Linked DNA regions of Homo sapiens: regions 2, 3, 4 and 5 are each linked to region 1. The links are contacts of gene promoters, found by promoter capture Hi-C in human tissues and cell types (Jung and others, 2019). All regions are on one chromosome and are shown on one strand. Each heading gives the region's core, a stretch centred on a gene start or on the middle of the fragment in contact. The rest is flanking DNA. Distances are from core to core; before and after follow the strand shown.

Region 1 (4,458 bases), core at 585-3,084:
CACGCCTGTAATCCCAGCACTTTGGGAGGCTGAGGCAGGCGGATTACCTGAGGTCAGGAGTTCGAGACCAGCCTGACCAACATGGAGAAACCTCGTCTCTACTAAAAATACAAAATTAGCTGGGCGTGGTGGCGCATGCCTGTAATCCCAGCTACTTGGGAGGCTGAGGCAGGAGAATCGCTTGAACCCGGGAGGCAGAGGTTGTGGTGAGCCGAGATCGCACCGCTGCACTCCAGCCTGGGCAACAGAGCGAAACTCTGTCTCAAATAAATAAATAAATAAATAAATAAATAAAATTAAAGTCTTGATATATTTTTCTGGTTACAGGTATTTTTTTACCTTCCCTTTTAAACTCGAAGTTCCCAGAAAATAAAGGCCAGTAAATACCATGCCAGGCTTCACTTAGAAGAAGGCAGCTCTAAAACAACCATCATCAACCCTGCTGAAGCTGTGCCGTTTCTCTGGTTGTCTGACATCATGACATCACACCCTCTTTCTCCAGTGCCGTGGCTGCTAACATATAATGGAAAGAGCTCTGGACTTGAAGGCAAATAGGCTGGGGTTGAAAATCCTCATTCAGCCTTTCAGAAATGTGCAACTTATGCAAGCCATTTATCCTCAACTGCAAATTGGGAAAAAACACTTCCTTCTCATTGTTGCTATGTGGAACAAATACCATCACGTGTATGAAAGAATCTAGCACAGTCTTTGATACATAGTAGTACTCAATATATGCTAGTTGAGGCCGGGCACAGTGACTCATGCCTGTAATCCCAGTGCACTGGGTGGCTGAGGCAGGTGGATCACTTTGAGGTCAGCAGTTCAAGACCAGCGAGACTCTGTCTCAAAAAAAAAAAAAAGAAATGCTAGTTGAATCCTCATCACCTAAAAGGTTACTAACCAGTGTGTGTGTAACATAAAACTTATATTATTTTATAAGGGAAGCAAAGAGTTCCAATTGTTTGAGAATCTTCCAGAAATACTTATGACAGCCTTTTCTGCCCCAATACCACTCCCCCCACTGTCATACACACATTCTAACAACTGGAGGGACAATTGAAAAGGCAAAAAGAAATCAGACTAGGACTCATAGATCTAGGCCTTCCAAAGAACAGGGAGGAACAGGAGTCACAAAACAAAGAACACCTCCTCTGGAGGGACTGTTGGAAGGAAGTTCAATGAAAGAACACTGCTGACCAAAGCCACTGCTCTCCAAGAACAATCCTTCAGAGCCTCACCAAATCTGGAATCAGTGCAGAACTGGGGAAATTTCATCAGATCAACCTGGCTCCAGAATCTGACTATAGCTAACAAAGGACTCAGACTCAGAGGCCTCTTCACAAAAATGCTAATAGAGTGAGTCTAAGACACACTCAAGAGCATGAGCAAGAGGAAAGATTTTGTAGAGTTGGAATACAGGTAATTTCAAAATATTAGTGACATCACCTTCAACCCCGGTGACCCTGGATGCATATACTTTGGGTAGGTGGAATAAGGAGGCCTAGAGATTCTTTAGTCCCTCTGGGAGGCTGTTTTCCACCACCACCCTTCCAGTGTCTGTTCTTGTACGTCTGAAATGTTAAGGTTACTTTTTTTTTCTTTTTGAGACGGAGTCTCGCTCTGTCGCCCAGGCTGGAGTGCAGTGGTGCAATCTTGGCTCACTGCAAGCTCCGCTTCCCGGGTTCATGCCATTCTCCTGCCTCAGGCTCACAAGTAGTTGGGACTACAGATGCCCGCCACCACGCCCGGCTAATTTTTTGTATTTTTAGTAGAGGCAGGGTTTCACCATGTTAGCCAGGATGGTCTCGATTTCCTGACCTCGTGATCTGCCCACCTCGGCCTCCCAAAGTGCTGGGATTACAGGTGTGAGCTGCCGCGCCCGGCCCCAGGTTACTTTTAACTGCCCAATATCATATAGTCCAGCTCCCTGCCTCCCAGCAGTCACCACTAAAGTTTTGCAGAAAGACGGATGGGGAACTCTTCTGTTCTCAGAGATCACCAAAAAAGGCTATTTCTGTTTCTTTCTGCCAACTCTGCCAAGCAAGTTCATTCCTGAATTTAATATCCCTGATGCAGATTGAGCTTGGTATTGGTAAGAAGGTGGCAACTCTTTCACTATGCTCTCTCCCAAAATTAGGTAGTGCCCTCTGAGCAGTAGAACCAGCATGGCTGCCTATGTGGATCTGTCCCTACTCGCAACTGTGAGTTGCACAGGAATAATAAGAAGGAAGCTTTAATCATTCCCTGCCACACCTTCGTAGGGCACTCTCATCAGAGGGTCACCGATTCAACGGGGACCACTACCTTTTAGGTCTGCTTAGAAACTCATGTGATAGCCTCAATCATCTTAAACAATCAACTTCTTTTTCTCAGTCTCTATGTTTGGTACATCCTTTCCTCTCCCTCTAGTCCACAGACTTTTAAGTCACTGAAAGCTCCTAGAAGTACACTTTTCAAAACTTTCAAGGGAAATACAGTTCAGACATTCTCCCACATAATAGTGTCTCAGACCTCACTAGAAAATTTAGCAGATGCCTGCCCCAATTAACTACGATTGGGATTATTACTGGCACCAGGAAGGCAAATAAGGATACTATCACCTCTTTTATCTCACAGACAAAAGAAAAACTCCCAGGGCTCAGCTAAGAATCACATCACAGTATTCAGAGGATTTTGCTACTGAACAGACTCTCCCTCCCGGCAGCTTTTACTCCTCAGGGAGCTAGACAGTGTTGAGAGGTGCAGGAAAAAACAGACTCCTCTCCTATATAAGCAGCTCTACCACTAGAAACCACCAAACTGGAGCTGGGTCTCTTCCCTGGCCTCTCAGGAACCCAGGCACTGCCTGCATCTGAAGCAAGTCATATGGAGAAGAAGGTGTTGTAGGGAATAGGGTTAAATTGCTTTAGCTATTTATTATTACTATTATTTTTATTTTATTTATTTTTTTGAGACAGAGTCTTGCTCTGTTGCCCTGGCTGGAGTGGAGTGCAGTGGCGCAATGTTGGCTCACCGCAACCTCCGCCTCCCAGGTTCAAGCGATTCTCCTGCCTCAGCCTCCCAAGTAGCTGGGATTACAGACACCCGCCACCATGCCCAGCTTGCTTCATTTAGTTTTGAATGCCAAGAAAATATGCCTTTGTGGGCAGGGCATGGTGGCTCACGCCTGTAATCCCAGCACTTTGGGAGGCTGAGGAGGGCAGATCACGAGGTCAGGAGATGGAGACCATCCTGGCTAACACAGTGAAACCCCGTCTCTACTAAAAATACAAAAAATTAGCCGGGCATGGTGGTGGGCACCTGTAGTCCCAGCCACTTGGGAGGCTGAGGCAGGAGAATAGCATGAACCCAGGAGGCGGAGCTTGCAGTGAGCCGAGATCACACCACTGCACTCCAGCCTGGGCGACAGAGTGAGACTCTGTCTTAAAAAAAAAAAAAAAAAAAAGCCTTTGAGGGTAACTGTTCTAAAGAAAATGAAAGGACTGGAAAGCAAAAGAAAAGGTGAAGGAAAAAGTCCTGTATTCAACAGCCTTCCCCTTCTAAGTCAGAGGAATAAGAAAAAAGTGACGGAAGACAATCTAAATTTTTAATATTAAATGACTCCTATGGCCTTCAAGGGGGTTCAGACAACTGAGGCTCTACACTTCACACTGGGAACCTAAATTCTCCTTCCAGTCAGACTGGAAGGGAAATGGAAGAGGCCTCCCCTGTTCCACAGCCTAACAGCTGGCCCCTAGGAAAAGTTGACAACTGACTGAGTTCCACAGCTCCCAACTGGGCAAAGTAGGGAATTCTGGTCTGAGTGACAAGGAATTGTTACAGGTCACACAGAGCAGCAGCTGGAGAAGACACAGAAGATATACACATATGTTCTGTGTGACTGAGCAGTTAAAATACATGTCTGCAGAGGACTCTCTGGGGAGGAGATGCTATCGCTTAACCTAGCTCCCCATTTCTTATCACCTCAAAAGATTCCAGGCAAACAACTTTCTACTGGCCTCCATTAAAGGACTTATTGGATCAGTCTCTGCTAGGACAGAATGGTAAAGAGCCCCAAATCAATCCCCTCACCCAGTTAATCACCATTCTCTTTTTCAAAATTTTTTCCATGGACTAGATAAATATGGATTGGTTTGCACCAATTCTGATATTTTTATGTTCTTATATTTTCATAGAATGGCTTTAAGAGATCATCTGATCTAGTGCCCTGCTTCCAAGCAGGCAGGCTGGCTCAATTTTCCTCCTTTTAAAGGATCCTTTATTTCCCCACCCCTTGCCTTTTTATTTTTTTCCTTTTTCTTTCTTAAGAGACAGGCTCTTACTCTGTTGCCCAGGTTGGAGTGCAGTGGTGGAATCATGGCTCACTATACGATTTCTGGTTGGGGATGCTTCCAAGGAGGAAAGCTTCTTCCTGGCCTCAAGCTACCCTCCCGCCTAGGCCTCCCAAAGTGCTGAGAT
Region 2 (4,458 bases), core at 1,337-3,836, 490 kb after region 1:
CAATAAGTAGGGCACAGAACCAGGAAGAATTCTTGTGTGCCACCTCCCTGGGGCTTCCTGGAGCTTCTCTTTGGGGAATCTCTGCTTTCCTCCCTCTTCCAGCCCTGGATAACCAGCCAAGTGCTTACTGGCTCATGGAACCCTAGCCAAGCCTGATTTCTGTGGGGAAAAAGCTTATGGGAATGGGGCAGGGAACAGCAGGGAGGTACTGAGTCTTTCTGTATGGGGTTTCCTGATGTCTGTGAGATCCAGGAGGATCTCAGGTCCCTTCTCCCTGATACCTGCTCTTCCCAAGCTCTGCTCTGTCCCTCTCTGCTCACGCTTATTCTTTCACATTATGTACCCATAGTTTTGCTTAAGGCTCAGGGAGATCATGTCCTTGGCCCAGAGTTCCCTGTCCTGACTGGAGAGGTCCTCACCTTGACTAGCTCACCCAAGGCTGGGAAACATGCAGGCCTCAGCTCCACCCCCATGCTGAGCCCTCTTCCAGCCTGGCCCAGGGCCTGAGCCCTGGACTAACAAGATCCAATCTCCCCAAAATGCCTGTGTGGACAACTGCCAAGCTGTACATTAGCTGTGGCATAGGATGCAGGAGGCACTTGACTGGGAAGCTGGGAATCCCCTGCAAGAGCCCAGGGGCAACTGCTTCTCTACTGCAATTGAAGTTGGGGTGTGTGAGAGACCCAAAGGATGCCCAGGTTTTGAGTTCTGTTGCTTGGTCTTCAGTCTTGGGCTTCCCTCATATCCCTCCTTAATGGTGTTTGGATTCTGGTCCAGTGTGTGGATCTGAGGGAGAGCTCTTGTCCCTTTTGGCCTGAGCTGCCTGAGAAATTCCCAAGAGACAGATTGTGGACCAGGGAGCATAGATAAGTGAGGAGAGACAGCATCTGACCAAGTGCTGTAGGATGGGGAGGAAGGGAGCCGTTGGCTGGCACAGCAGGTATCTGGGCACAGACAGTGTGCAGAGCCTGTAGACTTATAGTCAGTTTCTGGGTACCAGGTTCCGGGAACCCTCAGGAAGATGGTGACTACAATGGCTGAGGTGACAGAGGAGAAGGGGCCCTCTAGGTGATGAGGGCCCCTGACTCATCCTGTTAGATGTCAACAGGGACCCCAAGGCAGAGGAAGTACTGGAATTGGCAAGGGATGGCTACAGAGATAGGAGCAAAAGCCCATGGATGCTCTCTGGGATACAGCGCGTCTGAGTCTCTGCTGAGCGGCAATCCTGATCACCTTTGGGCTTGTGGGCTTCAGGCTCTCTGGGCTCTACAGGGTCAGCTTTCTACTACATGCCCTGTTTTTTCTCATGTGGAACTTAGGAGAGGCAGTTTAAGAGATGGTCATTTCTTCCCCTTTCCTTCCCACTCTCCACCTCCTAGAAGGATCATTCTAGTGGCTATCCTACAGCCACTTGAGAGGATTGTCCTAGTTGGGAAACTAAAGAAAGAGGCCAAAAGAGCAGAGGGATGCAGAAAACTGGTGTGAGGCTTGGGGATGAAAAAGAATAACGTGGGGCAAAGACTGCAGAGCAGACTCTTCTCGCCCCAAACTGACCTAACAGGTCTCTGTGGCATGCCCAGAGCTCTCCCGGGAAAGATGGCCCAGCCTCCCTTGTTCTCCCTAGGCTTGTTCTGGGAAGTCCACCTGACAGCTAGCTCTTCATCACTACTGCTGCAGTTCCTGCCCATCCTCGCTCTGCATTCAGCAAAAGTGCAGTGAAGCATGTAACCCAGCTTTCTTCCTTCCTGCTCCTGTGAGTTTCCCCTGAGTCCGCTGGGCCAGGGGCTGAGGGAGCTGGAGCAACCTATTTTATTTCTAAGGTGGCTAATTTAATCACAAATTTCCCTTGCCAACCTCCATGGCTGCAGGACCGGCTTCCGGCCACTTTGCAGGAAGCGAGATGTCAGAACCACTTTTTTGTCCCTTCAGTGGGGTGGGGACATCACCAAGACATGACCCTTGAAGGCATCACCCCTCAAGGGTAGGGAGCCTTTTTCTTGTCTTTATGTGGCAGTCCAGAGACACTTTTGAACCTGGGTATCCTGTATCCTCTTTAAAGCACACCTGACTGACAAATGGGAACTGTGTGGGGAGAGGGTTCCTGGGGGAAAGATTTCTGGAAGATCCACACCGATTGTGGAGAAAAACCCTTCCAGAGGAAGGGGAAGCACTGGGGAGATGGAAGGGAGGTCTCCTTGGAGCCCTTCCACCCAGGGGTACTTGGGATATTTGAGTTTCCCCCTCAAAGTCCCATGGGGCCAGGATTAATTGTTAGCAGTGTGGGGGCCCAAACCCTCTTGCCTTGAGGGGCCTGTCTGGCCCCTAGTCTGGCCTGTCTCGGAGAATGTTATGGAAAAGGGCGGCTGCATCTTTGGGACAGAGAGTGGGGGCACTTACCGGAGAAGCTGGAAGGTGGCATCAAGTTTGGCACTGCATCTGTCCAGCGCTGGGGGCCCTGTCCCATTCGAGCTGCACCTCAGGCCCCTGCACCTTCCCTGTGTGCCTCAACCCCCGCTGCCTGGCTGCCCGGCTGCTGCCTGCCGCTGCTGCTGCTGCTGTTGCTGCTGCGGCCGCTGCTGCCAAGACTGAGGTGGAGAAAAGAGCCAGAAAGCATTTCTCCTTTTTTTTTTTCCTCTCTCTCTCTCTCTCTTTTTAAACCAGGCAAGAATGAGTCTGCAGCAACCCTGTTGGTGCAAAATAAATAAATAAAGCAACCAGGGAGGGCTGCAGCAAGCACCACTACAGGCTGGCAAGTGACAGGGGAGGGAGCCAGGAGGGAGGCTCTGGTGCCAGGGAGGGGTCATGCAATAGCAAGAACAGCAGGTTCTAGAGGATCTCTCTGACATCCTGATTCCCCCACTGGGGAGCTTGGGCCAGCCACCTTCCAGAGGACTGTCTTTTGGTCTCCCAGATGTGGAGCAATTCTGTGCAACCTCTAAATCTAAACGTTCCCCGTGGGTATCATTTATGGGAAGTTCTCAGTCTAGAGCATCTCCCGTGGGGCTCAGTTTGAGGCTCCTACAGTGGGGGTTCCTGAAGATTCGTTCACAGTCCTCACTGAGGGACTGCTCCACCTGGGGAGAAACTGCAGGGGTCGGGTGAGGGTGGGTTGGATCTGTATAATGCTGATGGATTGCTGAGCTGGAAACCTGAGTCTTGACCCAGGAATGAGACTGGAGAGCAGGCATGCAGGTAATCTAATTTAAGAATCTCCCCCACCCTCTGACACACACACTTCTTGCCTTTAAAATCATTTTATAAAGAATGGCACAAGTTGGGGTTTATGTTTACTCAGATGAACCCGTCCCCTTAGAGGACACAATCCCACCCCCAACCCCCCCAACTCCACGACTGCCCATCATTGCTGTTAATCCCTCAGGGGAGGGTTCACAGCTGTTTATGAAGCCAAGAGAGGTTCTGGGCAAGATCACAGCTGGGGAAACAGGCCCAGGCCCTGCTCCCTGGTGTCCTCCATGCTGGAGTCAGCGGTGCCCAATGACGGGGTGATGTGATCACATCTGCTTCCTTCTCCACAACAAGAGCAGGGCTGGCGGGCAGGCCAGGAAAGTCCTCCAGGATCTGATCTTGCCTTCCGACTGACCAGTGCGAGCGACTTCTGCTTCTCTTGGGTCTTCTAGTGGTAGAAGACAGCTGGAGCTGGGGTGGTATTTGGATCACCCCAGACCCAAGATCAGTGGACTGGAGCACCATGGAAATGTTTGGGAGGGTCCCTCAGGATTGGGACTTTCCCCTGAGGCCTCTAGGCTCCTCCAAGCTGTGGCCTCAAGGATAAGAGAGATTGTGTCAGGTTCATGTGTCTCTGGAACTGCATGATTGCTGTTGAGTCTGTATGTGTTTCACCTGTGTATGGATATGTGTCTCTGATCAGATTTGTGCCAGCCCCTAAAGTCTATCTTTAAAGTGCACATAAGAGGTTTGAGTTTTAACTCTATGTCTGAGATGCTCTTGGCCTTCATTGTACCCTAGTCCCACACCCAAATCCCATAAAACAATTATCTCCAGCCTCTCATCCTCATCCCATCCATTTTTGGTTAGACCCCAGGTAAAGGGTAGGGTGCCCAAATACTTCCTTGCTGAGCTGGGAGGAAGGCAGAGGCAGAAAATGTAAAGCTCCAGATTCATTTTATACAGGTCCTTCTGGGCTCTCACTGCCAGTCTCTGAGCTTGATCCATCTCCCCAAGCCGAAGCCCAAAGGGAAATGCAATGAGGTATTTCAAAGGCTTATTCTTAGCTTCTGAGCTTCTGAATGAATTGCATTCTATTCATCCAGGGAGCCCTGGATGCCCCTGTTTTCTTGAGGATGTCTTGGTCCCCCAGAAGTCCTTAAATCCCAGCCACCCCATGCCTTCCAGAAGCTGGGTGTGAAGGAATATGGGAAATGAGACAGGTCAAAGCTGAGGCTGGAGATGGTGTTCTGCCAGCCCCACCCTCTGGCG
Region 3 (4,458 bases), core at 1,024-3,523, 290 kb after region 1:
CAGTATATTTTTATCTAATTCAGAGTAGGCATTCAGTATATTTTTATCTAATAAACCAATGAAAAAATAACTCTTTTAGGGGAGGCTCCCTTCTTTTTCCTTTCTCTGATGCCTTGCTTTCCCCATCCAGTGCTCAGTTCAAACCAAATTATTCATATTCAATCCAAATGCCACTATTATTTTGGAGCAAAACTCTTATATCAACTTTATTGTGTAACTAGTCAAGATCCTTCTTCATTAGCTTGGTTGTAAAATAAGGTCATATTAATTTTTATGTTCTAATTATAATGACTTTGAGTCCTCATCCCATATTTTGTGAGATCTCATCTTTGTTTTTTGGAGACAGGATCTCACTCTGATGGTCAGGCTGGAGTACAGTGGTGTGATCTCAGCTCTCTGCAGCCTTGACCTCCTAGGCTGAAGCGATCCTCCCACCTAAACCTCCTAAGTAGCTGGGACTACAGGTATGTGCCATCATGCCCAGCTGCTTTTTTTTTTTTTTTAGATATAGTCTCGCTCAGCCACCAGCTAATTTTTTATTTTTTGTTGAGATGGGGTCTCACTATGTTGCCCAGTTTGGTCTTGAACTCCTGGGCTCAAGGAATCCTCCCACCTCGGTCTCCCAAAGTGCTGGTATTACAGGCATGAGCCACCACACCCAGCCTTTAAAAATTTGGGGGGACTCTTTTGTAATAACAGTTAGCTTAAAACACAAACACATTGTACAGATGTACAAAATATTTTCTTTCTTTATATCTTTATTCCATAAGCTTTTTTTCTATTTAAGGCAATTTTTAATTTTATGTTTTAAACTTTTTTTTTTGGTTAAAAACTAAGACTTAAACACAAACATAGCCTATGCCTACACCAGATCTGGATCATCAATTTCACTGTCTTCCACCTCCATCTCTTGTCTCACTGGAAGGTCTTCATGGGTAATAACATGCACAGAGCTGTCATCTGATGGTAACAATAACTGGGGCCAGGCACAGTGGCTCACACCTGTAATCCCAGCACTTTGGGAGGCTGAGGTGGTTGGATCACCTGAGGTCAGGAGTTCGAGACCAGCTTGGCCAACATGGTGAAACCCTGTCTCTACTAAAAATACCAAAAAATTAGCCAGGCATGGTGGCGCATGCGTTTAATCGCAAGGGATTTGGGAGGCTGAGGCAGGAGAATCACTTGAACCTGGGAGGCAGAGGTTGCGGTGAGCCGATATCGTGCCATTGCATTCCAGCCTGGGCGATAAGAGCGAAACTCCATCTTAAAAAAAAAAAAAACAAAAAAACAAAACAAAACAAAAAAACACAATACTTGGAATACGTGGAAAAAAATCACAATACTTAGAATACCTAGAATACCTTCTGAAGGACCTGCCTGAGGCTGCTTTACAGTTAACTTAAAAAAAAAAGTAGAAGGAGTACACTCTAAAATAGTGATAAAAACTACAGTGAATTCATAAACTAGTAACATAGTTCTTACCATTATCAAGTATTATGTACTGTACATAATCATATGTGCTATACTTTCACATGACTGGCAGTGCAGGTTTGTTAACACCAGCATCACTCCAAACATGTGAGTAATGCTTGTGCTATGACCTTATGGTGGCTACTGTGCCACTAGGTGATAGACATTTTTCAGCTCCATTATCATCTTAGGGGGCCTCCCTCGTGTTTGCAGTCCATTGTAGACCAAAATGTCCTTATGTGGCACATGACTGTAGTTGCAATACAGGACAAGAAAGTTGCACAATAACTGGGCCTTAGTTCCTGATACTTAGTAGCTGGATGACTTTGAGCACTCTAAGGTTGTTTCCTAATAACGTAAAATAGGGAAGCTAATCGTGATCCGGTTGCCTCACAGGTTGTTGGGCCCTGGTCAACATATAAGTTACTGTGCCAAAAAATGAGTTGATATAATTTAAGACTGTGTTGAATCACAAACGTTAAGTTATTCTAACATTATTGTTTTTTAGAGGTTATGAAATGAAAGGGGGGGGGGCGAAAAACTTGGTCCGCATCAAGAACTGAATCATTTTACCACGCTGGGTGCTGGGTTATACTCTCCCCACCCAGCAGATCAAACTCCTAACCCAGCATGAAAGATAAACTACAACTCCCGGCAGGCCTTGCTTCCGAACTGCGTCTTATAACCTCGGCTCAGGCCCAGGCCCAGACCGCTCCCCGCCCCCGCCACCCATAAACTACATCTCCCAGGAGGCCCCACGGTGCCCGATTGTCCGCTTTTCGCCCGCCCCCTGCCTCCTCTTCACCCCGCGCCAGCAGCTCGGTGGCCGAGTCGGTCCCGCGGCCGGCGGATCGGGCGCGCGCGTCGGGGGTCGTCCGGCTGCCAGGCAGGGCGAGCACGCGCCGGGAGGCCTTGGAGGCGTAGGGGGCGGGGGTACGGCTCGCCTGCTCGCAAGATGGCGGACGAGGACGGGGAAGGGATTCATCCCTCAGCCCCTCACAGGAACGGAGGTGGCGGCGGCGGCGGGGGGTCTGGGCTCCACTGCGCCGGGAACGGCGGCGGGGGAGGCGGCGGCCCGCGGGTCGTGCGCATCGTCAAGTCCGAGTCCGGCTACGGCTTCAACGTGCGGGGCCAAGTGAGCGAGGGCGGGCAACTGCGGAGCATCAACGGGGAGCTGTACGCGCCGCTGCAGCATGTGAGCGCCGTGCTGCCCGGGGGGGCGGCCGATCGGGCCGGGGTGCGCAAGGGGGACCGCATCCTGGAGGTGTGAGTATCGGGGCTACCCGCCGCCCCATCCTCCCCGCGCCCCTCCTGCCCCTGCACTCCTCGCTACCCTTGTCACCCCCAGGCCGCACCTCCCCCGAGCTCCGAGCCGGCCTCCGGACCCCCGCCCCTCAGGCCTCCGCAGCCGGGCCCCTCCTTGTGGGCTGCCCTCCCACCACCCGCCCCGGGGCTTCTGCGACGCCGGTCTCCCACCCCGTCGTCTCCAGCTGATGCCCTTGCGCCCCCAGTGCTCCTCCCTGTGCCCCGATTACTCTGGGCTCTTCTCCGCCCCTTTGCCTTCCCGTTTGGCGTGCTGCATTCTGCTCCTCACTCCCCCTCGTCTTGCTCAGAAGGAACCTCATCTGCTCCTTACTGACGGCGTTTCGTTTTCTGATCCAGCCAGTACCGTGTCCCCCCCAAGTTCTCATCTTCAGCATCGCAGTTTCGTTCTCCACCACTCCCCTCCGCCCCCGTGGACTGCCCCTTCTGCCCTCCAGACCAAGTAGGCAGGACCTCTGGTCTGCTCCTACTTTTCCTCCGGAAACACCATCCCTCCCCGCTCGTCTCCTTTTTCTTTCCTTAGTTACCCTCTCCTCATGGTTACGCTGCCCCTAAATTTTTCCATCCCACCGTGTGCCCCTTTCCTCCCCTCCTTTTTGTATTTCTACTCCAAGAGTTTACCTTGCTTTCTGACCCTTGCATGCCTTTGGGGTGGGGGGCGTGGGATTTGACACCGTAGTTTCTCTTCTCGGTTGGCCCCGTATCACACCCTAATTTGGAATCTAGCGTCTCCATCAGCACACCCCTCTGAGAGCATCCCTTCCCTGGCCTCCTGCCTTCACTCCTGCTCTATACTCATGCCTCCTCCTAGTCAGGTTTATGGTAGACCCCTTGTAACTCCTCCTCCTTCAAAACTACTTCAAGCCCTTTTTGGGTCTTTGACCGCTTTGCTTTTTTAGGGCATGCCCGTCTCTGCTGCCTCTTCTACTCTATCCTCCTGTGATCCCACACTTGACTTTGTCCTAGTCTTTCCCTCCCCTAGGCTGCTTTTCCTTTCTTCTGTTTTTTAAGGCGCCTTCTGCTGCTGCAGCCCACCCTCTCTCCCCTGCTGCAGTCCCTCCCCCTTCATACGCCTCCCCCACCACATCCCTCCATGCTCTTGCGGGATGCTGCCTTGTCTTGCAATCTCTGTGCACACCGCCTCCATTACCCTAATCTAGGTGTTACATTTGCCTTTTTGTACTTCGTATTGAAATTCGGATAGTGATTGCCGGTTGACTTGCAGGTGGTGTGTGCTCGCGTTGTCTCCGTTCTCCTCAGCAGTCTTCAGTGCTGTGTTTCTGCTTACTGAATCTATGTTGTGCATTCCTTTTTTACACTTTTACTCTCTCCCTCCATATTTCGATTTGCCCACTTGAAATCGTTCTCATTTTTTATAAATTTTAATTGTAATTTCCGCAACCTTCTGTTGCCTCTTGTAAAACAGTAGGTTTGCAAAAGGGATAGTTTTTTGAAAATCTGCCTTATAGAGAAATCCATTCCTTCTTACTCATCTCGTGCCATCTACCCTTATCCTTGACATTCTTAACTCCATGGTGTCCACTCATTCTGTTTCCTCACCTCTTCCACCTCAAGAAATGGTTGGTTTTAACCTGGGAGAGTTGATTGAAAAAAAAAAAAAGAAATAGTTGCTCACCTAGGCCAGTGTTTGGAGACAGTATACCT
Region 4 (4,458 bases), core at 990-3,489, 280 kb before region 1:
ACTGTTCTCATAAAACTGAGAGGAGAAAAAAAGTGAAAGAAAGCAGCTGCTTTAAGAATGGTTTTCCACCTTTTCCCCCTAATCTCTACCAATCAGACACATTTTATTATTTAAATCTGCACCTCTCTCTATTTTATTTGCCAGGGGCACGATGTGACATATCTGCAGTCCCAGCACAGTGGGACAAAAAGAATTTAGACCCCAAAAGTGTCCTCGGCATGGATCTTGAACAGAACCAGTATCTGTCATGGAACTGAACATTCATCGATGGTCTCCATGTATTCATTTATTCACTTGTTCATTCAAGTATTTATTGAATACCTGCCTCAAGCTAGAGAGAAAAGAGAGTGCGCTTTGGAAATTTATTCCAGTTTTCAGCCTACAGCAGATTATCAGCTCGGTGACTTTTCTTTCTGCCACCATTTAGGTGATGGTGTTTGATTCAGAGATGGCTGAATTTCTATTCTTAGCTTATTGTGACTGTTTCAGATCTAGTTTGGGAACAGATTAGAGGCCATTGTCTTCTGTCCTGATCAGGTGGCCTGGCTGTTTCTTTGGATCCCTCTGTCCCAGAGCCACCCAGAACCCTGACTCTTGAGAATCAAGAAAACACCCAGAAAGGCCTTAATGACCTCATAGGCACTCTTCCAAAAAGACAACAGAACTGGAATGAGAGGCCTGGGTCTGTCTCCTGCCTTAGCAGGCCTATCAATTTCTTGTCAATCTCTTTTTTTCCTTGCTCACATTAAAAGGAAGCATGGAGTTCTAATGCTCCCATAAACTATGTATTTTGGCAAGACACTTCACTACTCCAGGTCTCACTTTCCCCATCTGTAAAACAGGGTTTGGACTAGGTGTTCCCTGGTATTCTGTGATCTGCCTCTTGCTGCCATTCTTTCTCTCCTCTGCTTCTCTGTATTTTTCTTCTGTTATCCCTGGGGGTGCTCAGGTTCACTTGATTGTCTGTATTTCTGTGTGGTTGTAGCAAGGACTCAGCCTCATGTAGCACGAATAGGGGTGTGGTTCATGGCGTGTTGACCCAGCAGAGCACTCCCTCCCACTAACTTGTTCTGCATGTGTAGAGTCTCCCCATTTTTTTTAACGCAACCCTTTCCCCTTTTTCCTACCCCACAGCTCTGTTCCATGTAAGTTGCCAACAGTTTCACTGAACAGTGGGGTATGTGATGGTTTTGGCATGACATCTTCAGTATGAGGGGGACAGTTTGACTTCACTTTGAGGGTGTGATGTCTGTAGCTATGTGGAAGGTAAAAATAGTGGTGTGATCATGAACCAAAGGAATTTATGTTTTGTAACTTGGGTACTTTATTTTGCATTTTGTTATACTATTAAATAATTTTTTCCTGTTTGGGGGTCTTACTGTCTTTTTTTACAAGTGTATTCAGGCCTTTCTCTGTGATAGTTGTTTCAGTCTCCTCAAAATTGATCCCCCTTCTTCCTACTATACTTAATGTCTTCTTTCTGTTGACTCTTTTTGGGAATAAGGAGCAACAGGCTTCTGTCTCCCCTCATCCTCAGCCTCCCGTTCAACTTGTTTATTCTCCCAGAAACCTCCTTATAACATACTTCCGTTTCCCCAGTTTTCCTTATGCTTGAAAAGTAGATCCAAGATAACAGTCCTAGAAACACACACAATGGTTTCTTTTTCTTTTTTTTTTTTTTTTTGAGATGGAGTTTTGCTCTTTTTGCCCTGGCTGGAGTGCAATGGCACAATCTCAGCCCACTACAACCTCTGCCTCCCAGGTTCAAGCGATTCTCCTGCCTCAGCCTCCCAAGTAGCTGGGATTATAGGCATGTGTCACCACGCCCAGATAATTTTTTTTTTTTTTTTTTTTTTTTTTTTTTTTTGGATTTTTAGTAGAGATGGGGTTTCTCCACATTGGTCAGGCTGGTCTCAAACTCCCGACCTCAGGTGATCCGCCTGCCTTGGCCTCCCAAAGTGTTGGGATTACAGGTGTGAGCCACCACGCCCGGCCAGAAACACAACGGTTTCTACTGGTTTTTTTGCTTATTTGTGTAAAGAGCAACTTTGAGAGGGATATATGGAGTCTGGAAAGGAGAACAAATTGCCTTCCTAGACTCAACCGAGACTGGCCCCCACTAGAAAATGCACTCTCCTCCCCAAAACCCGCCCCCTCACAGGAGGCAGGGTTTTTCTTTTGGGCAAACCTGCTCCTGGGGAGAGGAGTGGCAAAACCTGTTTTGAAGATGAGGTTACCTCCCTTCCACACCTCCCTCCTTGGAGGCAAGAGCTACAACAGCTGAGACAGAAAAGAGGTAAGGAAGTGTTGGGGGCTGGGACAACCAGCTCCCCAACAACTCCTAGGTGTTTAAAGAAGGAGGCAGGAAGACTTGTGAAGATGGGAACTATACAAGAGGCAGGAAAAAAGACAGATGTTGGGTAAGTAAGATCTTGGCTCACTTGATTGGTAACAGTGAATAAACAGTCCGGAGAGACTTCCCCACCACCCAGCTCTTACTGGGTCAAATCTCGGGTTCCTCAAGGAGACAAGACTGTAAGAGAGTTTGCAGAGAAGAGATGAGGGTGGTTTTAGGTAGGAAATGTCAGTATGGTATGGAACTGGGGAACAGGATTCCAGGATAATTCCCTGGTTTAAAAATAAAGGAAGTTTCTGTAATATGTTGTACCTGATAAATCTGCCTGTGTTCTTTTATTTTCTAACCCTCACCCTCCAGAATGGCCATCAGGAAAGCTGAACCAGAACCGAGTTTAGGTCCAGGTTCTCGTTCTGGCAAATCTTTCTCCTTACCTTCTTCCTCCACCCCTCCACTTATGCCATGTTTTCCCTTAGCCACTCCCCAGCTCGGTGGAGGAAAGGCAGGCCTAACTAGGTACCGTCTTCCCGACTTTGCTCAATGATAGCTGGGTGGGTCTAGCTGGGTTCCAGCCACTTGTAATGTGGGACATCTCTCACCCCAACTTTGTAGGTGGAGCAACTGCTACAGAGGTAAATATGATTAACTTTACATTCCATCTTTCGTCTGCTCCCAAACTTAACAGCAGGTAATCTGCTTCTAGCAAGTGGTGAAGGTAAGAGAAGCATCTGTATAGGAGGCAAGAGATCTGAGTCCTTTTGAAGGCCTATCCTCTGCTCTGTATCTCAATTACTGTTCTTCATTTCAATTATTCTTACCTACTATTCAGTTCCCTTGATCTTTTCTTCTTGGGGGCTGTCTTAGGGTCAGGGAGATTGCAGAAGCACCAGAACTAGGAGCAGCCCTGAGACATGGGGAGTTGGAGCTGAAGGAGGAATGGCAGGATGAAGAATTCCCTAGGTGAGGACGTGTGAGGGTGGCTGGGAGAAGGGAGGGGTGGTCACGAATGGACGGAGGGGATGGCGCGGCGGCTCATGGCTGTAATCCCAGCACTTTGGGTGGCCGAGGCGGGTGGATCACCTGAGGTCAGGAGTTTGAGACCAGCCTGACCAACACGGTGAAATCCCGTCTCTACTAAAAATACAAAATTAGCCAGGTGTGGTGGCACATGCCTGTAATCCCAGCTACTCGGGAGGCTGAGGCAGGAGAATCACTTGAACCTGGGAGGCAGAGGTTGTAGTGAGCTGAGATTGTGCCATTACACCCGAGCTTGGGCAACAAGAGTGAAACTCTGTCTCAAAAAAAAAAAAAAAAAAAAAAAAAAAAAGCAAATGGACACAGGGATGGTGAATTAGGACTTGAAGGAAAAAAATGGGAAAAAGAAAACAGAGGCCGGGCGTGGTGGCTGATGCCTGTAATCCCAGCACTTTGGGAGGCCGAGGCAGGTGGATCACTTGAGCTCAGAAGTTCAAGACTACTCTGGGCAACATGGCATAACCCCATCTCTACAAAAATACAAAATTTAGCCAAGTGTGGTGGTGCACACCTGTAGGCCCAGCTACTCGGGAGGCTGAGGTGGGAGGACCGCTTGAACCCTGGAGGTAGAGGCTGCAGTGAGCTGTGATTGTGCCACTGCATTCCAGCCTGGGCAACAGAGTGAGACCCTGTCTCAAAAAAACAATTAAAAAAAAAAGCAGCATAGGTGATAAAATCATGGTGGGGAGAGAGAACCTATATATTGAGTCCTGGCTTGATGCCTTTGGTGTATATGTCTGCCGCCTTTTAATCTCTTCCCCTCTAGATTGCTTCCTGAGGAGGCTGGCACTTCTGAAGATCCTGAAGACCCTAAAGGAGATTCACAGGCAGGTAGGTCAAGTAGAAACCAGGCCTCAAGTTCTTGATTCTAGTCCAGTAAAGGGCTATGCCACCTCTATCCTTTTACAGTTCCATTTCCCCCTTTTCCCAAATCTCCCCTGCGTGAGTCCTTCTTCAGCATTCACCCCATATTATCACTTTCACATACAGGAATTCTAGCCCTCTCGGCTCTCCAACACACACACCCATCTTGGTTCTCTTTTTCCCCCTTTCTCCAGCTGCAGGTA
Region 5 (4,458 bases), core at 1,265-3,764, 260 kb before region 1:
AGCTAAAACACGCTGTCCAGAGAGGGGAGCTGTGGTCAGTGGGACGTCAGTGAGTCAGTCATAGGGTTTGTCCTGATGGTGGTGGTGGCAGGTGGTAAGGGTTGGGGAAAAATGAAGAATTAGAGGAAACCCCCAACACCAGCAGGCAGGCTGTACTGTGACTGGACTCTCCCTCAACATCCCCCACTCTGCTCAAAGCTGAGGGACAGAGGTGGATAGTGCTGGGAGGGAAGAGAAGAGAGGGGGAGGAGAAGGAGAGAGGGAAAGGGGCAGTGGAGAGAACAAGGCCATTTCTGTTTCTTTTCCAGGGACCTGACCAGAGCTGGGTGGAGGGAAAGCGTGTGTGTGGGACTTGGCATGAAATGACCAATGATGACGAGAAGTGACCAGGAAATTCCATTCCCTAGGACATTAGGGTCTCTGAAACTTGAGGGTGGGGTCAGAGTGTGAAGAAGACAGGTCAGGGTGAATGTGATGGTAGCGCAGGGCAGTGGGGGATGGGAACAAAGCCAGAAAAGGAAGTAAGAGCCACTGGCGGCCACTCTTCTTTAAAGCAGCCAGAAGAGAGTGGGTTGAGGAAAAATGAAGTCCTGAGCTGGTCAGCCCAGGCGGAAGAGCCACCCGAATCCAACCCCACAGTGAATAGGGAAGGGGCTGAGAAAACAACAGGAGGGATGAGGATTAGACCTCATAAGGCCACGTCCTGAGAGCCAAGTGGTGCTCAGAACTCGACCTCTCTGAGTTCCAAATGGCAAGAGTGAAATATGGAACCGGGAAAGCCACCCCCCGCCCCCACCAAGATCATACTAGGACTTGAGGGTCTCAGAGCTGTTGGGAGGTGAGCAGAAGGGATGGGAAAGAGGTGCCAGGGAGGAAGGATGTACAGGCTAGTTCTCTGGTCCTGTTCGGGCCCCAAACCGGTTCTCCCGGTCCCACCGCCTCTGGCCCTAAGGCCTCCAACCCGCGGCCTGACAAGCCCTCACATGAAGCAGCTGGAGAGAAAGAAAGAATCGAGAGAATGGCATGGGCAATTCTGGCTAGAAGCCCGGGGCAGCAGCTGGTCCCTGTGTGGAGACCCCGAGACATGGAGGGCTGCTGAGGGACTCTGGAGAAGCGGTGTGGACTCCATATTTCAGCCAAGTGACAGGCCCAACACCAACCTTCCCTTCCCCAGGAAAGGTCTTCTGGGGGCTTAAGAGGAAAGAGGGCTAGGCCCTAAGCCTCCCCTCCCCAAATATATTCAATCACACAGATTCCGTATCTGTCTCCCCCCACTACACAACTCTACCTAGAAGTTCTCTGCTGTTCTCAACCCTTAACCGGACTGGGACCTCTCTGGGAATCTTTCGGACCCTCTCCCTCCCACCTCCCCCAACATTCCAGTTCCTTCTTTTCCTTCTACTCTTCAGCGGCCTCAGCCTGCGCACCCCAGGAGCGTGGATGACTACGGCCACCCCGGGCGCGCACCCCTTTCCCACCACCCCAGCATCTCTGCAGCCCAGGACACCCGCCTCCCCCACACCCCGCATCCGGTGTGTCTCCGCCTGGCCCGGCCGGCGCGGCAGGCGGGCCAGGGGACCAACTGCACGGCCTCACCTGCTCTTCTCCACCATCCAGACGTTCAGCTACAGCTGGTGGGGGTGAGGGACTCTGCTCCGTGGCCGCCAGTGTGGGCTTCCCGGGCTAGCTCTGCGGCGAGGTGGGGGAGCCGAGTACGAGCCGGCAGAGGTGGGGCCGGCTGAGGGCGGAAGCGGCGGCGACGCGATTACGAAACCCGTCCGGCTCGGAGCCCGGCGCACTGCTCCCCTCTGGACTGCGGAGGCACTGCACTGCGCGGGACGTGGGAGGGTGCCTCTGCAGCCCCTCAAGGCCGCCGCCCCTGCGGGGAGAACTGGAGAATGCGGACACCTAGATGAGGCCCTGGCACCCAAGCTGGGGCCCCCGGAATCTCACGTTCCCTTTACTCGCCAGGCATTTCGGGGCAAAACGAAGCGGAGCCCCCCAAACCCCCAGACCTAACCAAGTTCAGAGATTCGCAGAAGCACGCCCCCCACCCCAAATTTATTGTGCTCTACCCAAAATGGAATAGGACTAGGTTTATTTACCCATTGTGAGGGTAGAGAGGCGAGTCTGGAGGAGCAGGGATTGGGAGAAGGGGTGGAAAAATACTCTGATTCTTAAAAATACTTTGTAACCTAAAGTCCTTAAATTGTGGAAGAAAGGAATACTCCTCCTTTCCATTGTAGTCTAGAGTTAAGATTTCAAATCCATAAATTAGAGGACCTAAAATTAGAGGGCAATTAACTGCTCATTCATTGGGCCCCCAGTCAGCACGGGGGTGCTGGAAGAGATCGGGAATAATAGCGCAGACCAATGAGCCTAGGGAGATGCTTTCATCGTCTCTCCTTCCCTCAAGTGTTCTGGAACCTATCATTTGAATTAGCCGAGTCAGGCAGGAGGGGGCGGGGAATCCTTCCGCCCTTCTTAGGAGGGGCTGCATTGCAGGGGGAGAGTGAACTGACAGACTCAGTCACTGAAGAGGGAAAAGGAGTGAGAAGACAAAGCCGTCAAAGCCCCAACAGCTTTGTATTTCTCCAGCCCGGCGCAGACCCCGGAGCTCCCGAGGCACTCCCTCCATCTTTGGAACACGCCAGTAATTGATTGATAACAGGTAAACCAAACTGAGGGAGGGGGCAGGGGGCTGCAAAGATAGAAGAGCGGCTGCTTATGGTTAGATTGAAAGACCCCACATGAGGTGGGGGACAGCTGAAGAGGAGAGAAGGGGGCGCTATGAACAATGGGTAGTTATTTCTTCACAGCATCCATGCCTTGTTACCTTATACAGACCATTAATCTCTAACAATTTACTTGTAGTTATTTCTCAGCACCTACCTCATTTCAAGTATCCTTTTCTGTAATTTATTGTCCTGTGTATTTAATATCTTCAGTCTACTTATCTTCCTTTTCAAACCATAATTTGTTTTACCAGCTGTTTAATTTTTAGTCCTACTGTATCTCTCTGTCCTCTACTTCCCTATACTTGCAATTTTTTTCTGTAGTGTTCTATGTTTCTCTGTAGGAGGGAGTTTGGGAGGGGGTTATATGGGATAATGTTGGGTGTAATCCTGACCTTTCTTTGGATAATCTCTTTCATTCCACCTCGAATCTTTGCTCCAAAGAAAGAGGCAGCCTAGGGTAGGAAAGGTGGGGGCCTCTGTGTTGGAGAACTGCCTGATTCCATAGTGAAATCAGTATAGCCCACAGGAGCTAGGTATGGGGACAGATTCTGGAAAAGAATGATTTGCAGCTCAGTGGAATTGGTGGAGGAATGCTAGTAGGAAAATCCAAGCTCTGACTGAGGCACACATTATGAGATGTCAGAGAGGTTCTGCTCCCCTCTACCACCACCACCACCTTGTCCTTCCCCCTTCCCCATGGTGGCAGCATGACACAGCAAGGCCCTGTTGAGTAGGCCTTGGATGCCCACAAAGGGTCTGGACAAAGGATATTTGGGCGTGTCTGTGTGGCTCCGAGAGTGTATCTTTCTAATCTATACATTTGCTAATCATGTATCTCTAAGAACAGAGTGATAATTAGATATTGCCTTTGCCTAAAATACCCGGATAATTTAAAGTGAAGGATAGTGGGAAGCATTTATTGAACATATATTGTGGTACAAGGCACTGTCAAAACCCTTTAAGTAAATGATACCATTTAAGATAATGAAAGATGTAAAGATAGATGAAGTAGGGCTGGAGAGCATTTGTGGAGGGGAAGGGGAAGCTAGCCAAAAAAGGATCTTTTGCGAAATTTGGAGTATTTGATAATTAAATCCATACTATATTAAATCAAAAATGTCATTACTACTTACATTAGTGAATAGCATTTTAACTTCAATTTTCTGTGTAGTATTACTTTATGTTCTTGACTTGATTTTAATGCCACGTATGTTTGCATGCATGTCTTTCTTGAATGTATTTGGTACCCTGTGTACATGTCTCTGGGTCAATGACATAGAGATTTTAGGCCTTTTGAGTTAATATTTCATAAAATTTGCTTTAGCTTTTTAAATTGCAAGATAGCTCTACCAAACACTCAGGGACTGTTTGAGCAGTTTTTTATACATACTCTGGTTGTAAGAAAAGGAGTCAGTTTGTCGAAGAGCTTTTTTTTTTTTCTCAGATTCTAGCTTGCTCTACTGCCCTTTGCTTTTCCCCATTCAGATCACAATTACAGGAACAATCACCTAAACCACGGAAAATCTATTCTTCAGCAACTAAAAATTCTTTTAAGTTTTGGGAATACTGGTATAGGGTTATATAAAGCTGTTGGCAACTATCCATGTACAACACAAAAAGGGATCAGATTGGGAATTATGAGATCTGGATTCTATACAAACTGGCTGGAAGTCTTCCCAAGTCATTAATTTCTAAGATGTCTTCTAGTTTTAAAATTCTA

What was found. The method cuts DNA at HindIII sites, captures the fragments that hold promoters and counts their contacts. A contact is called where the count stands out against the background at its distance.
Region 2: the fragment with the promoter of LINGO4 here is called in contact with a fragment that was not itself captured in region 1 in 1 of the 25 tissues and cell types used here (lymphoblastoid cells).
Region 3: the fragment with the promoter of SNX27 here is called in contact with a fragment that was not itself captured in region 1 in 2 of the 25 tissues and cell types used here (heart right ventricle and hippocampus).
Region 4: the fragment with the promoter of BNIPL here is called in contact with a fragment that was not itself captured in region 1 in 3 of the 25 tissues and cell types used here (lymphoblastoid cells, mesendoderm cells and spleen).
Region 5: a contact is called between the fragment with the promoter of MLLT11 here and a fragment that was not itself captured in region 1, in 4 of the 25 tissues and cell types used here (H1 embryonic stem cells, adrenal gland, lymphoblastoid cells and 1 more).

Annotation. Positions count from the first base shown.
Region 1 is chr1:151,318,448-151,322,905 of GRCh38, forward strand. All of the region lies in intron 1 of PI4KB (phosphatidylinositol 4-kinase beta), which reads right to left. Among named protein-coding and RNA genes, the nearest start is that of PI4KB, 6.7 kb to the right of the region's middle. The HindIII fragment of the contact is 7,586 bases long and covers 1-4,458 here.
Region 2 is chr1:151,802,833-151,807,290 of GRCh38, forward strand. It overlaps LINGO4 (leucine rich repeat and Ig domain containing 4), which reads right to left and starts at 2,587. Exons shown (of 2, transcript NM_001004432.4): 1 at 2,398-2,587. RORC (RAR related orphan receptor C) reads right to left here. Exons shown (of 11, transcript NM_005060.4): 11 at 3,239-4,458. The HindIII fragment of the contact is 7,603 bases long and covers 1-4,458 here.
Region 3 is chr1:151,609,777-151,614,234 of GRCh38, forward strand. SNX27 (sorting nexin 27) reads left to right here and starts at 2,274. Exons shown (of 12, transcript NM_001330723.2): 1 at 2,274-2,736. The coding sequence starts at 2,426. LOC124904420 (a long non-coding RNA gene) reads right to left here and starts at 3,592. Exons shown (of 2, transcript XR_007066622.1): 1 at 3,415-3,592; 2 at 741-2,623. RefSeq lists an enhancer at 2,050-2,149 and a silencer at 2,190-2,629. The HindIII fragment of the contact is 9,196 bases long and covers 1-4,458 here.
Region 4 is chr1:151,034,347-151,038,804 of GRCh38, forward strand. BNIPL (BCL2 interacting protein like) reads left to right here and starts at 2,240. Exons shown (of 10, transcript NM_138278.4): 1 at 2,240-2,420; 2 at 3,221-3,316; 3 at 4,158-4,222; 4 at 4,450-4,458. The coding sequence starts at 2,380. PRUNE1 (prune exopolyphosphatase 1) reads left to right here. Exons shown (of 8, transcript NM_021222.3): 8 at 1-1,367. The HindIII fragment of the contact is 8,096 bases long and covers 1-3,115 here.
Region 5 is chr1:151,057,883-151,062,340 of GRCh38, forward strand. It overlaps MLLT11 (MLLT11 transcription factor 7 cofactor), which reads left to right and starts at 2,515. Exons shown (of 2, transcript NM_006818.4): 1 at 2,515-2,671. It overlaps CDC42SE1 (CDC42 small effector 1), which reads right to left and starts at 1,740. Exons shown (of 5, transcript NM_020239.4): 1 at 1,597-1,740. RefSeq lists silencers at 78-137, 148-197 and an enhancer at 2,061-2,652. The HindIII fragment of the contact is 8,370 bases long and covers 1-4,087 here.